Linked DNA regions of Homo sapiens: region 1 is linked to region 2. Evidence: promoter capture Hi-C in 16 types of primary human blood cells and fetal thymus (Javierre and others, 2016). All regions are on one chromosome and are shown on one strand. The core of a region is centred on a gene start or on the middle of the fragment in contact, and the rest is flanking DNA. Distances in the headings are between cores, read along the strand shown. Region 1 has its middle 6.7 kb from the start of RFX7. Region 2 holds the start of MNS1 (meiosis specific nuclear structural 1).

What was found. Contacts are between HindIII fragments. The CHiCAGO score rates a contact against its expected background, and 5 or more counts as called.
Region 1: a contact is called between a fragment that was not itself captured here and the fragment with the promoter of MNS1 in region 2, in 2 of 17 cell types (erythroblasts and megakaryocytes). The highest score is 7.6, in erythroblasts.

The regions. Positions count from the first base shown.
Region 1 is chr15:56,247,357-56,253,807 of GRCh38, reverse strand. It overlaps a transcript of TEX9 not described here. Among named protein-coding and RNA genes, the nearest start is that of RFX7, 6.7 kb to the right of the region's middle. The HindIII fragment of the contact is 3,453 bases long and covers 2,452-5,904 here.
Region 2 is chr15:56,462,614-56,468,913 of GRCh38, reverse strand. MNS1 (meiosis specific nuclear structural 1) reads left to right here and starts at 3,777. Exons shown (of 10, transcript NM_018365.4): 1 at 3,777-3,944; 2 at 4,667-4,888. The coding sequence starts at 3,942. RefSeq lists an enhancer at 225-274 and a silencer at 3,598-3,847. The HindIII fragment of the contact is 3,006 bases long and covers 2,931-5,936 here.

The sequences.
Region 1 (6,451 bases), core at 2,929-5,428, 220 kb after region 2:
CTGATTGTGAAGAGCTGTAATTTTTAGCCACTTTTTCCACCTTATACATTGGGCAGCGATAAGTGACATTTTCAGTCAGATTTGGCTAACAAGCTCATCCTGTTATGGAATTCTACTCCCTCCCTGCCATACCTCAATTCCTGACTGCTGAGTAGCCTGTTCAGAGTACATCAAGAGCTAACTTTAACAGCTTTAATACTCACTAAGAGAACCCTTCTGAGAGTAGCTAGAAAGCACAGACCCTCATCTCTAATATTATTTGGGGTTTTGAGTCCCTGAATAGCTAGTGTCATTTGGCTTTCTTTAGGGACCTCAGAAGGGATACGTGTTTAAAGTTCCTATAAATATTGTGTAAGATTTTCCAACTGATTATGAAGACCTTCCGTTCTTTCTCCTTTTTCAGTTCTGGGGTTGATATTTGGAGGGGGTTAAAGTCAGACACCTCTGTACACTCCCAGGACTCTCTGACATAGCATGTGTTGAACCTCTCCTTGTTTTATGATTTTTGGGGTTTTTTTGCTTGGTGTAGGCAAAATTTTTTCTTCTTGCCATCCAATGGTGCCTCTTTCCCTATCTGCTTTGTGCATTTCAAACACGCAGAGTTTGAATGTCCTTCTGTGCTCTGATCAAGGAATTTCTTGCAGCAGCTATCTTAGGTGCCGTGTGGCTTTTAGTGATCATGACCTGTGCTTTATCAGACTATAAAGTAGTGGCATGTAAAAACTAGGCTGCCACCACTTTTGGTTTTCAGGACTCCTGTCATTTTTAGGGCCCTTATCCCCTGCCATCAATCTATTCCTTCCCTTCTCCTCTCTACCTTCCAGAAAAAAAGGAAGGGAAATTCATAATTTATTTGGCTTTTACTATGTGTAAAGCATTGTGTGGAGTATTTTCAGAAATATTTTTCATTAAATTATCAGTACAACTGAGTGAAGGAGTTATTATCCCCACTTTTACCAATTGGAAAACTGAGGCTCAGAGAAGCAAAGAACTTGCCTGAGATCACAAAAATGGCAAGTGGTAGAGCTGAGATTTGGATCCTAGACTCTAAATTTGGAAGCCCGGGGGATCTCCATGAGGGTCAGCCTCAAGCCTCATCTGCCCAAGAGTGTGGATCTGAATTCAGATAAGAAACTAGAGGTTACAGGAAGCACGCAGCAGACTCTTTTCCTTAAAAGGAACAAAGCTGGCCAGAGTACCTTTAAATCTGGAGAATTGTAGCACCAGATGTCAGGCTGAACAGACACAGTTGGCTGCTTGAAAAATTTTTGTAAAGTCATGGAGACATGAATTTTAAGTACAAATTAACTATGTTCTCAGCTCCTACACCATTATTATGAATAAGATATTGAGCTTTCTTATTAGCCCATTCTGCTTTTTCTGACATTCTGCTTTTATTTTGTGGCCTGGACAAAAAAAAAAAAAAAAGGTTTTTCTAATAGCTCAATTCAACAAACATTCATTGTTTGGCTACTTTGTGGGAGTGACTATAGTATATGTTGGAGATATAGAGAAGATTAAAAACATACTTCCTGACCAAATATAGTTTGTAGTACTGGAAGTCAGGTAGAGGGAGTGTAGATGCAAGAAATAGGCAAACAAACCTACAATTAGCCTACAATGAGATAGTATGACATAAGGCTGTACAAGGTACCACAGAGCCACAGAAAAGAGACAGCTAACACAAACTGGCTGGGAGTGGGTAGGGAATGGATAAGGGAAAACTGCTGAGAGGATGCAATTCTTGACAAAAGAGTGAGCCCTTCACACCATAACTTTATGTGTAAGACTCTCTGGGGGAGGAGAAAATCACACTAAACTAAGGAAGTAATGAAAGTCTTCTCCTGAGTGTCTGAGAAGATAATTCAGTTGCTAGAGCTGCACTGGAGCCTAAACAAACTTTTCACTCCCCAGCTCCCCTTAAGTTTCTATGCCGTCGCTTGTATGTCTGTTCCTGGATTTCTGGGTGGTTATCCTGAATTTCCCCAAGGCCTGGCCAATAATCCATTCCTCTTCATTTGCACCTGCTTTCTCTGGTGCTCCATGAGGAAATTTACTCAGCTTCTATCATTCCCTGGGCCTACTGCTCCTATCAACACTAAGCCATTATCTTATCTTCTTTAAGCCCTCTGAGCTCCTCTTCACACAGTTTCTGCTTAATCATTGCCTCTTCTGGTTGTTGTCTAATGGTTTCTGAGGTTAGCTTTCTCTTGTGTATCTTTCAGCTACTGTTTTTACTCCCAACTGCCTAACCTTCTCTCCTTATCATATTCATACTCTCCAAAAAAGGAATCAATCCGTTAGCTAATTACTAACATCTTCCTTGGGCAAAGGTTTTATTGAGTCAGCTCATAAGCCACTGTCTAGCCGGAAGATTGATTGTCATGGTGTCAAATGTTGAGCCCTGTTCCAACTAGGGGGCCAGGGTTACAAGAGACAAGGATGGAAGCTTACATCAACAGAGCCAGGCTTGGAGGGTGACTGTGGATATGGCCGACAACCTGAGGCTTTGCTGAATTAGGAGAATGACACTACAGGCATAATTAGAGGCATTTTAAACGGAGAAAACAAAAACATACTAACATCAGCCACAATATAACACTGGCATAACTTCAGGAGATGGTAAGGGAAAAAGGGATGAAGAAAAATAGAAATTCATCCTTGGGAATAAACATTTATGTACAGGGAAGAGCAGAGAAAGTAGATCTATTCTTGGAAAGGAGACAGGTTGGCCCACTTCATAAGAAATTACCTTTCCTGAGATCCACATAAAGAAAATCCAAAGACATCTTCTCAAATACATGAGGAGTGACTTACAGAGTGTGGTAAGTGTCATGGTTCCTTGGCCTAGCCAAGTTGACACATACCCAGCTATTCAAATCATACTCTAAGCTGGATGTTGCTGTAAAGGTACGTATTTTGCAGATGTGGTTAATTAGCTACAATCAGTTGACTTAAGTAGATTATCCTAAATAATTTTGGTGGGTCTCATCCAATCAGGTGAAAGGTCTTAAGAGCAAAACTGAATTATTTTGTTTTTTTTTTTCCCTAAGGAAGAAGAAATTTCACCTGTGGGTTGCAGCATCCACTATGCAAGGCATTTTGGCCTTCCCTACAGATTTCAGACTTGCCAGCCTCACAATCACATAAGCCAATTCCTTTAAAATATGTAAACATACAAATATAAAATATATATCTCCTACTACTTGTTCTCTCGTAGAACCTCGCTTTGTACACAGTATGGAAGCACAAACTCCTCAGACTAGCTTGAATACACTCGGAATTTGGTACCCCATATAACCTTTATCATCAGCTGTTCACTCCAATTAGACCAGTCTTCTGTGTGTCTTGTCATTTGCATGCTCGTTTTCCTGCTTCTACTCACACTGCCTTTCCCTTCGGACTTGTCTCCATTCTTTCTCCCACCTTTATAAATCCTTCATTTTACTCACACTCTAGCTCCATCCCAAGTCCTCCACGCCACTTTTAACTTTAGCTCCTTTTGCTCTTTCTCTAAACTTCCTTAGCAGTTATTAGCTACGCCATTCACTGGTTTTTAATCTTATATATCTCACCTACCAGTGTCTTTTTTATATAGCATCCACCACTAGGAAGTATAAATTTGCAAGTACAAATTTGGGTGTGCAAGACATGTCACTATTCTTTAAATCAAATTAAATTTACCACAGACTTAAGTGATCTCAGCCTTAATTCTGCTGGAGTAGAAGGAAATCCAATCTCAGTTCTTACTGGGCTTTCCTCTCTTCCTAGTACTGCAGTAGGGTTTGAAAGACTTATGTTGAGCCTAGAAAATGGAAGATGGACTTTGACATCCTCACTGGCAATTCCTCCACTTATGGGCCAAGAGAGGCAAGGGAATCCAGCCTCCCTAATGGCATTGTGCATCCATATGAGGTTAGAGTATCTCCCTGGGGTACTCTTATTCTTACTACTGGAACCCCAATCTTTGATTTTCTACAGCTCATGGGAATTTTTTTTTCTGTAATTCCACCTGCCCATAGATGCTTCTTCTTTCCTCTTTTTTTTTTTTTTTTTTTTTTTTTTGAGACAGATCCTCACTGTGTCGCCCAGGCTGGAGTGCAGTGGCACAATCTCGACTCACTGCAACCTCCACCTCCCTGATTCAAGCAATTCTCTGCCTTAGCCTCAGCCTCCCAAGTAGCTGGGATTACAGGCACCTGCCATCATGCCCGGCTAATTTTTGTATTTTTAGTAGAAACGGGGTTTCACCATCTTCGCCAGGCTGGTCTTGAATTCCTGACCTTGTGATCCACCTGTCTCAGCGCCCCTTCCTTCCTTCCCTCCCTCCCTCCTTTCTTCCCTCCCTCCCTCCCTCTCTCTCTCTCCCCAGATGTGCTTACCTTTTTAACCCCCTAGCAACATCTCCTCAAGGAGCAACAAACTTGAAAGACAGATTGCTGGGTCCAATTCCAGAAATAACATTGACACTGCATTCTAAGGAGTCCTGTTCCAGGAGGCTTCATTTAAAATGTGAATGGTGCCCCCTGGAGTTGCCTAAGAGAGAGCTCTTGTCAGACAACTTTCTGCCTAGTAACACAAAGTTCCCTTGAAGCCTGCTTGGAATGGAAGGGAGGGAAAATATAAGGAGCATAAAACCCAAATAAATAGCTCAATAAATTATCCTGTCACACACCTTTTGTTTGTTTTTTGTGTTTTTATTTCACTTTTAAAAATATGTATGGGCTGACATGTGTAGTGTTCCAATTAGATTATGAGCTTCTTGAAAATGAGAACAATATTTTACTACTTATTTTTTAATCTTTCTAAGGTCCCAATATAGTAACTTGTACATAGCAGGTTCTCGAATGTGCCTTGAAAGGAATGGAGGAATGATCGACCTTGTGAATTATTGGTTAGGCCCCACCTGTTCAGACTGCACTGGCACTGACTTCCTCACTGTGGGATTGGCTCTGGTGTCTTTTCATTGTCACTTTTAGTGTTAAGTAAATAACTAAAACACTTTTAGTGTCACAATTTAGTGTTTTTCTTTATCTGCTTCTGTTCACAGCCACTCCTTTCCTGAATTTCTAAGATATCAAATTTCTACTTGGGACTTTTTGGCCCAAGTTAAAGTAAACACTTCCTTTAAAATGTATGTAGATGATATTAACTTGAACCTTCTTTAATGTAAAAGAATTGAAAGTTACAACATAAACATGTATATGGTACCAACAGTGGAAAATTTCTAAGTGAAATCAAAGCGGGATCTAGCATTTGTTTCATCATACTACTCACTTGAAGAGCTGAGTATATTATGTGAACTTTATCCCACTAATCCTTAGAGATAAGCAAAGGTACTTGAAAGAATGACTTGTACAGATAGGGTCACATAGCCAGGTAGTGACAGTGTTAACAGTCTGCTGCCTTGACAGTATTTGAATAGTTAGGCTACTTAGCCTTAACACTGGGCTATACATTGTTTTAATGACATAATGACATATTTGTGCTCTAACAGAAGAATTCACATTTTCACAGCATACTTACATTAGCACTCTTGGTATTGAGAACATGTATCAAAATTTGCCAATATTAACTTAGTTCTGAACCCCCCAACTTCCCTCTTCTGTAATCTTGCTGCTGCTTTTATTTTTCTCCTCTTCACTCCCTCCCACATCCTCTTCTCTCTAATGCTATTAAAGACTGAAAGAAAGCTCAATCACATTACAGCATTGAAACTTATATATATATAAGCCCTCCTAGGACTACTTGCACTTTGAAAGACAACAGCTTAGCTGAAAGAAATTATCCATCACTTTCTGCTATCAAGGAAGAATTGGGAGAGGTGAAAAGCCTTCTTTCCTTGTTCTCTTAAATAACATGTAGGTCATTAAACTCTACTTTCAGCTTCTAGAGGAGAAAGCTTGCAATGGAAAAAGACAGAGGAAGTAATGATCAGGGGAAAAGAGGATGAGAGGAGTATTTTATTTTTATATTCAAGTTGGGAAAGAAGGAGAACAGGGTAGAACTTTACCTTTTCCATATCTGGTAAACCACCATACTTTGTGGAAGTGAAATGTATACTTTCAGCACTTAATCAGTATGTACCAATAATGAAACCGACTTTCAGGCCTTCCTTTGATAGAACGATCCTAACTATAATGCAAAGTAACATTTTGTAAAGTGGGTTTTTGTCTCTCTCTCCTTCTTTTCCCTCGCCTATACTACTTTAGGATCTGATCACAGAGTCAACACCGTGCTATGCATTATTCCTTCAGCAAACAGTACCCTTTCATGGCTTCACACCAGTGCTCATGTTACTCCCTTTATCTGAAATCATCTTCCCTCTGTTGCTCTGCCTACTCAACTCCTATTCATCCAACAAGACCCAATTAAAATGCCAGCCATGATGCCTTCTCCAGTTCTTCTACCCTGAGCAAGACCAATCCCTCCCTCCATTATGACTCCACAA
Region 2 (6,300 bases), core at 2,528-5,027:
TTTTCAATAAAATTACCCAGGTAAATTTTTATTCATATCTACAATGAATAAGCATTCTTTCTGTGTAGTGTTCTCAACCCTAGAAATCAATATATTACAATTCTGTAGTTCTTTCTCAGTGTTATGCTAGAATTCATGAAGTCAGCAATCTCCTATTCCTGTAGACATAGTGAAGATGCAAGAGCAAAAGTGAAAGTGAGAGACGAGGAACGAAAGACATCCACTAAGCCTGGGTTTCAGTGAGCTCACCAACCATTTCTTCATGTCTCTTTACCCCTAACAATTATTTAGCACTTGATCACATCATCACACAGTCCATATGATTCCCAGATTATGGTGGCTAAAATATCCAGAAACAGATTTTCTTGTCTTAATGAAACAATCAAATTCAATATATGGAAGTTAGCCTATTCTGCATCAACCAGAAAGTAGTCACTTCCTAACTGCATATGACAGACAGAAAAAGTACTAAAGGAAGTTATATACAATGAAACCATTAAATGCAGATTTGCCACAAGGCAAGATGGTAATACTTGAACATTATGAAGTGCAGAAACTGCACAAGCACATTATATTTTAAACACTTCATCTATTTAACAAACTATGTACCCTCTTCAGCTAAATAAGATGAATTGAGATTCAAGAGGCAGCACCATACTAGCAAATCTCATCCTAAAGGCATCCATTAATATAAATCAACAGCAGCAATTTGGTTTGATCACTTATTTGCAAGAATCATTAAGGTTTATTAGCATAATTGTTCCCTCTGGGATTTCATGTCGAGAAAATGAAGAATGGCATTATCAATATTTAAAAGATAAGTGTGTAATGTTCAGAGTATTTCAACAGTCATCTGCAGGTGGTGTCCAGCTGCAGCAAATTAGATTAGATTTGGGCATTTTTCTGAACGAAAGAAAAATTGTTTTGTTCTAATTGCTTTATTTTATAAAGCAATACCATTTCGTAAATAATTTTTACTGTATAGCTACACTTAACAGTGCACATCTATTAACATGCTTTATTTCAGATCAGCAACTCTGTTAAGTTCAACCCTGTTATATTGTAACTACTGGGGGACATTAATCAGTATAATTCATCATCCATTATAAGGAAAAGCTCCTTCCCCTCAGTACTCTAGACATTTTAGTCTAGACTTGTAGGTAAAAAGTTGTTTTCTAGAGGGAAATGAACGAGAAGACTTCCTTGTAATGTTGGGAAGGCATAAGTCCTCCCTTAACAATGAAGTATCATTTATGATAGTAATAATTTATTACTAGAAATAATATTTAAATGTAATAATTGTTTTTTAATAATGACATGCAATGGAATGTTATTTAGTGATAAAAATAAATGAGCTATCAAGTCACATAAAGATTTGCAGGAACCTTTAAATGAGTTTTGCTAAGGGAAAGATGCCGGTCTGAAAAGGCTACATACTGTATGATTCCAAAGATACGACATTCTGGAAAAGGCAAATCTATAGAAACAATAGAAAGATTAGTGGTTCCCAGGGGTTTGGGAGGAAGGAGTGAGGGAGAAATGAATAGGTAGAACACAGAGACTTTTTAGGCAGTGAAACTATTCTGTATGATACTGTAATAATAGATATATGACAATATGTCTCAATTTTCTGACCTCAAGCAACCTTCTTGCCTCAGTCTCCCAAGTAACTGGGATTACAGGTGCAAGCCACCACTCCTGGCCAGATACATGACATTATGTATTTCTCAAAACCCACCTGGGAGCAGTGGCTCATGCCTATACTCCCAGCACTTTGGGAGGCCAAGGTGGGTGTATGACTTGAGGTCAGGAGTTCAAGACCAGCCTGGCCAAACTGGTGAAACTCCGTCTCCACTAAAAATACAAAAATTTGCTTGTAGTCTCAGCTACTTGGGAGGCTGAGGCAGGAGAATCGCTTGAACCTGGGAGGTAGAGGTTGCAGTGAGCCGAGATCATGTCACTGCACTACAGACTGGGCAACATAGCCAGACTTCATCTCAGAAAAAAAACAAAACAAATCCTCATAGACCTGTACAAAACAAAGAGTGAACCCTAATGTCAATTACGAACTTAATCATATTAATATTGGTTCGTCAAGTGTAACAAATGTACTACACTAATATGTAATGCTAAAAATAGGGGAAATTGTATGGGTGCGGTGGGGAGGAGAGGTGAGACGGGGAATTCTCTGTATTCTGTCAATTTTTCTGTAAACCTAAAACTGCTTCGAAAAAGGAGCAAAGTCTATTAAAAATGTAGTAATTGTTAGGATAATTTTTTAAAGGTTAAAATCAGCTAATTGTTACAATTGATTAAATTTGTCTTGGATTTAGGTCAATATTCTGGCCAAAAATCTTTTTCTCAGATTACCTATGAAATTATATGAATCCTTCTACCATATCCAAGGGTATACTGGAAATGAGGAATTATAACTGAAGTTCCCTTTAGAGACGAAAGTCTTCATTTCGAGAAGTAAACAGTAAAAAACATACATGTTTGCTGAAATACTTTGCAATGTCACTATTTCACTATTAGGAATTAACAAATTAAACCCCACACTCTATTGAATGTGTTATACCCTGTTCAACCCTGAACCCATGCCTGTCTCCTGTCTCTTCTATACAGTGCCCAACCCTTTGCGGAGATGGATATGCCAAGAAGAGAAATTTATAGCAGGCTGCCTGCTTTGCTCCATTCCAGATCAATTTACACAGAACACCCAGAGGGCAGGTTTACGCCTTCTCTCCATTTCTCTCAAACAGTGATGGCAATGAGTGGAGTACTAGAGACAACATAGATATGCAACCACGGGATAAATGACCAAAGGACAGAGAGACGAGCGACCTCAGTTGTATGATGGAACCAAGAGAAGTCGCTGATTTTTAGTTGTTTTGATCTGGTTGTAAGGATGGGGTGACAACTTCCAAGCTTTTACACGTCAGCACTGAAACTGCAAGTCCCATTTGTTATTAATCTTTAAGCAGACATATTGCTACAGAAGACGGACTCCAAATTAGAATAACACAAAGTTATACCACTAATCACCTTATACAAATATTTTAGTGTTGACAAGATTTCTCTGAATGTATCATTTCTAAAATCAGTATATCTAATTTCTCTGATCCATTATCATTCTTAAACTTCCCATTTAAAATGGACTTTAGTGTCTAACCTGCCTATGGAATGAACCAGATCAACATCCTGCCATCATGTAACGTGCTCTCTCTTGGTACCTGGACCACATAGCAGAGTAAGATTCATGTGGCTCATAGATTTTAGTCCCAAAATTTACCAGCAGCTTCTGCGGGGGGGGGGGGGGGGCGGGGGGGTGAAGTGAAGGCTGCTGGAAGCTCGTGCTACCCTCAGTGCCTCACAACCCAGCAAAGGGGACAGCGACCTGGACTCCCATTGCTGAGGATTAAACCAGTCATCGTCCCTAGCAGAGACCTGGCTGACTAGGCACTTAGTGTGCGGGATGCTCCATGCGTGGAAATTTCCTTCGGCTCCATGCATTAGGCAGTAGTTTGCGTATTTCTCTGTGCGCAGTCTCCACAGTCCCGAACTTGGCTCCCAAACCCACTGAAACCACAGTTCGGCCGCTGGAGGGAAATCGAGCTTCCCTAGCCCACTGCAAAGTGCTTGGGTCAGGCCACAGTCTGAACTTCCCGCTTTTCTAGTTTAGACCTATAGAAGTAGCCCTCCTGCCCTGGTCCTAAGAAGCTCAATGCCGATTGTATCTTATCGCGTCCAATGGGAGGCCACGTTCTGCGTGGGTCACTTTTGGTCGAGCGGAGGGCGCGCAGCTCCACCGTTGCCAAGACGCCGCGTAAACACCCGAGCGCGCGCAGCCAGGTGCGCTCCTTGGGGCTGCTGGCTGCTGCGTTTGCGGCGGGAGGTGGTGGCCGCGGTCCCACGAGAGGGGGTATTTTTCGTCAGCCAAGATGGTGAGCCAGTTGGGGGACTTGAAACTACTTGTTTATTGTTGATTTAATTCTAGTTTGGCGCTCATCTGCTTCTAAAAAAGGATTTTAAGTGCTTAATCTGGTCATTAATTGGGGAACTTGTATTTGCTTTCGGAGGCTTCAGGTGCTATTAGAAGGGACGCTCGCGGTGGTTTCCAGCTTTTTTGGCACTTTTCGCATAGTGTATTAAATACATCTTTAAATCTGCCCAATAGAACCTCTGAAGAAATAAGTAGATATAAAAGTGTAGGAGAAAGCGAATTGATAAATAGCGGCGAATTGACCTATTACATTTATGTTAGGAAAATCTGACCAGCTTCTGAACAGCACTTTATGGCCCTGTGGTGGTAGTCGTGGTGGTGGTGGTGGTGGGTGGAATGAGGGGAGGAGAAATTCCCTGGTGGTAGTAAAGATCTGGGTCTGTAGGGTGCGATTAATCCTAGCACAGCTATTTATTAGCTGCAGAACCTTGGGTAAAGTTACTTTTCATGTTTCATCTATAAAATAGGTAATAATAACAGTACCTATTTAATCGATATGTGAACATATTTACCACGTTTACTTTTTATTCGGTATACTCCTTTGAATTTAGGAAGGAAGCCAGGCTCTTCGTATCCTTTCTTACTAAGGTTTATATCAATACATTTTTTAAAATTAGATTTTGGAATATCAAAATATGCATCTTTTTTTTTCTTCCATCGTAGGGTTCCAAAAGGAGAAATTTGAGCTGTAGTGAAAGGCATCAGAAATTAGTAGATGAAAACTACTGCAAAAAATTACATGTCCAAGCTCTAAAAAACGTCAACAGTCAAATCAGGAATCAAATGGTGCAGAATGAAAATGATAACCGTGTTCAGCGCAAGCAATTTCTCAGATTATTACAAAATGAACAATTTGAGTTGGATATGGAAGAGGCCATTCAAAAGGTAAGTTTTACTATTCATTGTTACTTTTTTTTTCATTTTGCACCTTGGAAACGATGAAAGTCAGCTGTTAATGCTGGAAATGAGTAGATAAACAACAGCAGCAGGTAAGTGATGCCTGATTGTGCCTCAGCTCGGTGTAATCGTAAAGACCTGGGTTTCTGGAGCCGGCCTGTCTTTGAATCCTACTACTGCTATACCTTAGCTACGGACCCTTGAGTAAGTTGCTTTTACTTTTTTTTTTTTTTGGATGGAGTCTTGCTCTGTCGCCCAGGTTGCAGTGCAGTGGCACGATCTTGGCTCACTGCAACCTCTGCCTCCGGGGTTCAAGCGATTCTTCTGCCTCAGCCTCCTGAATAGCTGGGACTATAGGCGCGCAACACCACGCCTGGCTAATTTTTTAATTTTTAGTAGAGACGGGGTTTCACCATATTGACCAGGCTGATCTCGAACTCCTAACCTCGTGATCCGCCCGCCTCGGCCTCCCAAAGTGCTGGGATTATAGGGGTGAGCCACCGCGCCCAGCCTGCTTTTATTTTTTATGCTTTTTCTATAAAATGGGGAATAAGAATAGTACCTCCTACTTAGGATTGTTTTAATAATGAGTTAATACATGCAAGACTCTTGGAATAGTGCCTGGTACAGAATAAGCACTCAGATTTTTTTTTAACATAAATATGAACTCTGTAATTACTACCAGTTTTGTTCATGTAAGTACAATTGTGTTGCCTTTCATAAATTTCTAAAAACAAAAATTTAGGGGTGCCTTTAAAAAATTTACTGAAATTAATGTATACATTATTAAGTGGTAGAAAATGAACCCTTAGGTATATCTCAACATTTTAAGGGATTAAGGTGGTAGAAAAGGGAAACTAATAAGAATTGAGACATGATAGAAGTGAATTCTCATAAATATATAAAAGGTATTCTGATATGTCAGTAGTTTTTGAGTAGCTGCTGTATGTTAAACATTTTGGAGGATTTTGTGGAGAATAACAAAAGCAAATTTAAAAAATGATATCCACCCTTCTGTGTTCCAAATTCAAAAGCTTAGATATGATTTTTTTTTTTAACTCTGAGAAAGCACATCTTAGGGGTTGGATATTTTTCCTATTCTTATTATTTTCTCTTTAATTTGAAAGAATATCCCAGGTATCACACCAACTCTTTCCTACATAGTTAAGTGTACATCTAACAAAATATGGATGTTTTCTTACATGGAGTACCATAATACTATTATCTCACCCATTCCATAAACACATTTCTGTGATTGTGTCAAAAATCTGCTTTTACAGTTGGTTTGTTTTAACCAAGATCCAAGGAACATTCATACGGTGTATTTGGTGGTTATGTCTGTTTAAGTCCCTCTTAATTGAAAACAGCCCCTCCTTCACCGTGTTTTTCTTTTTTGACTT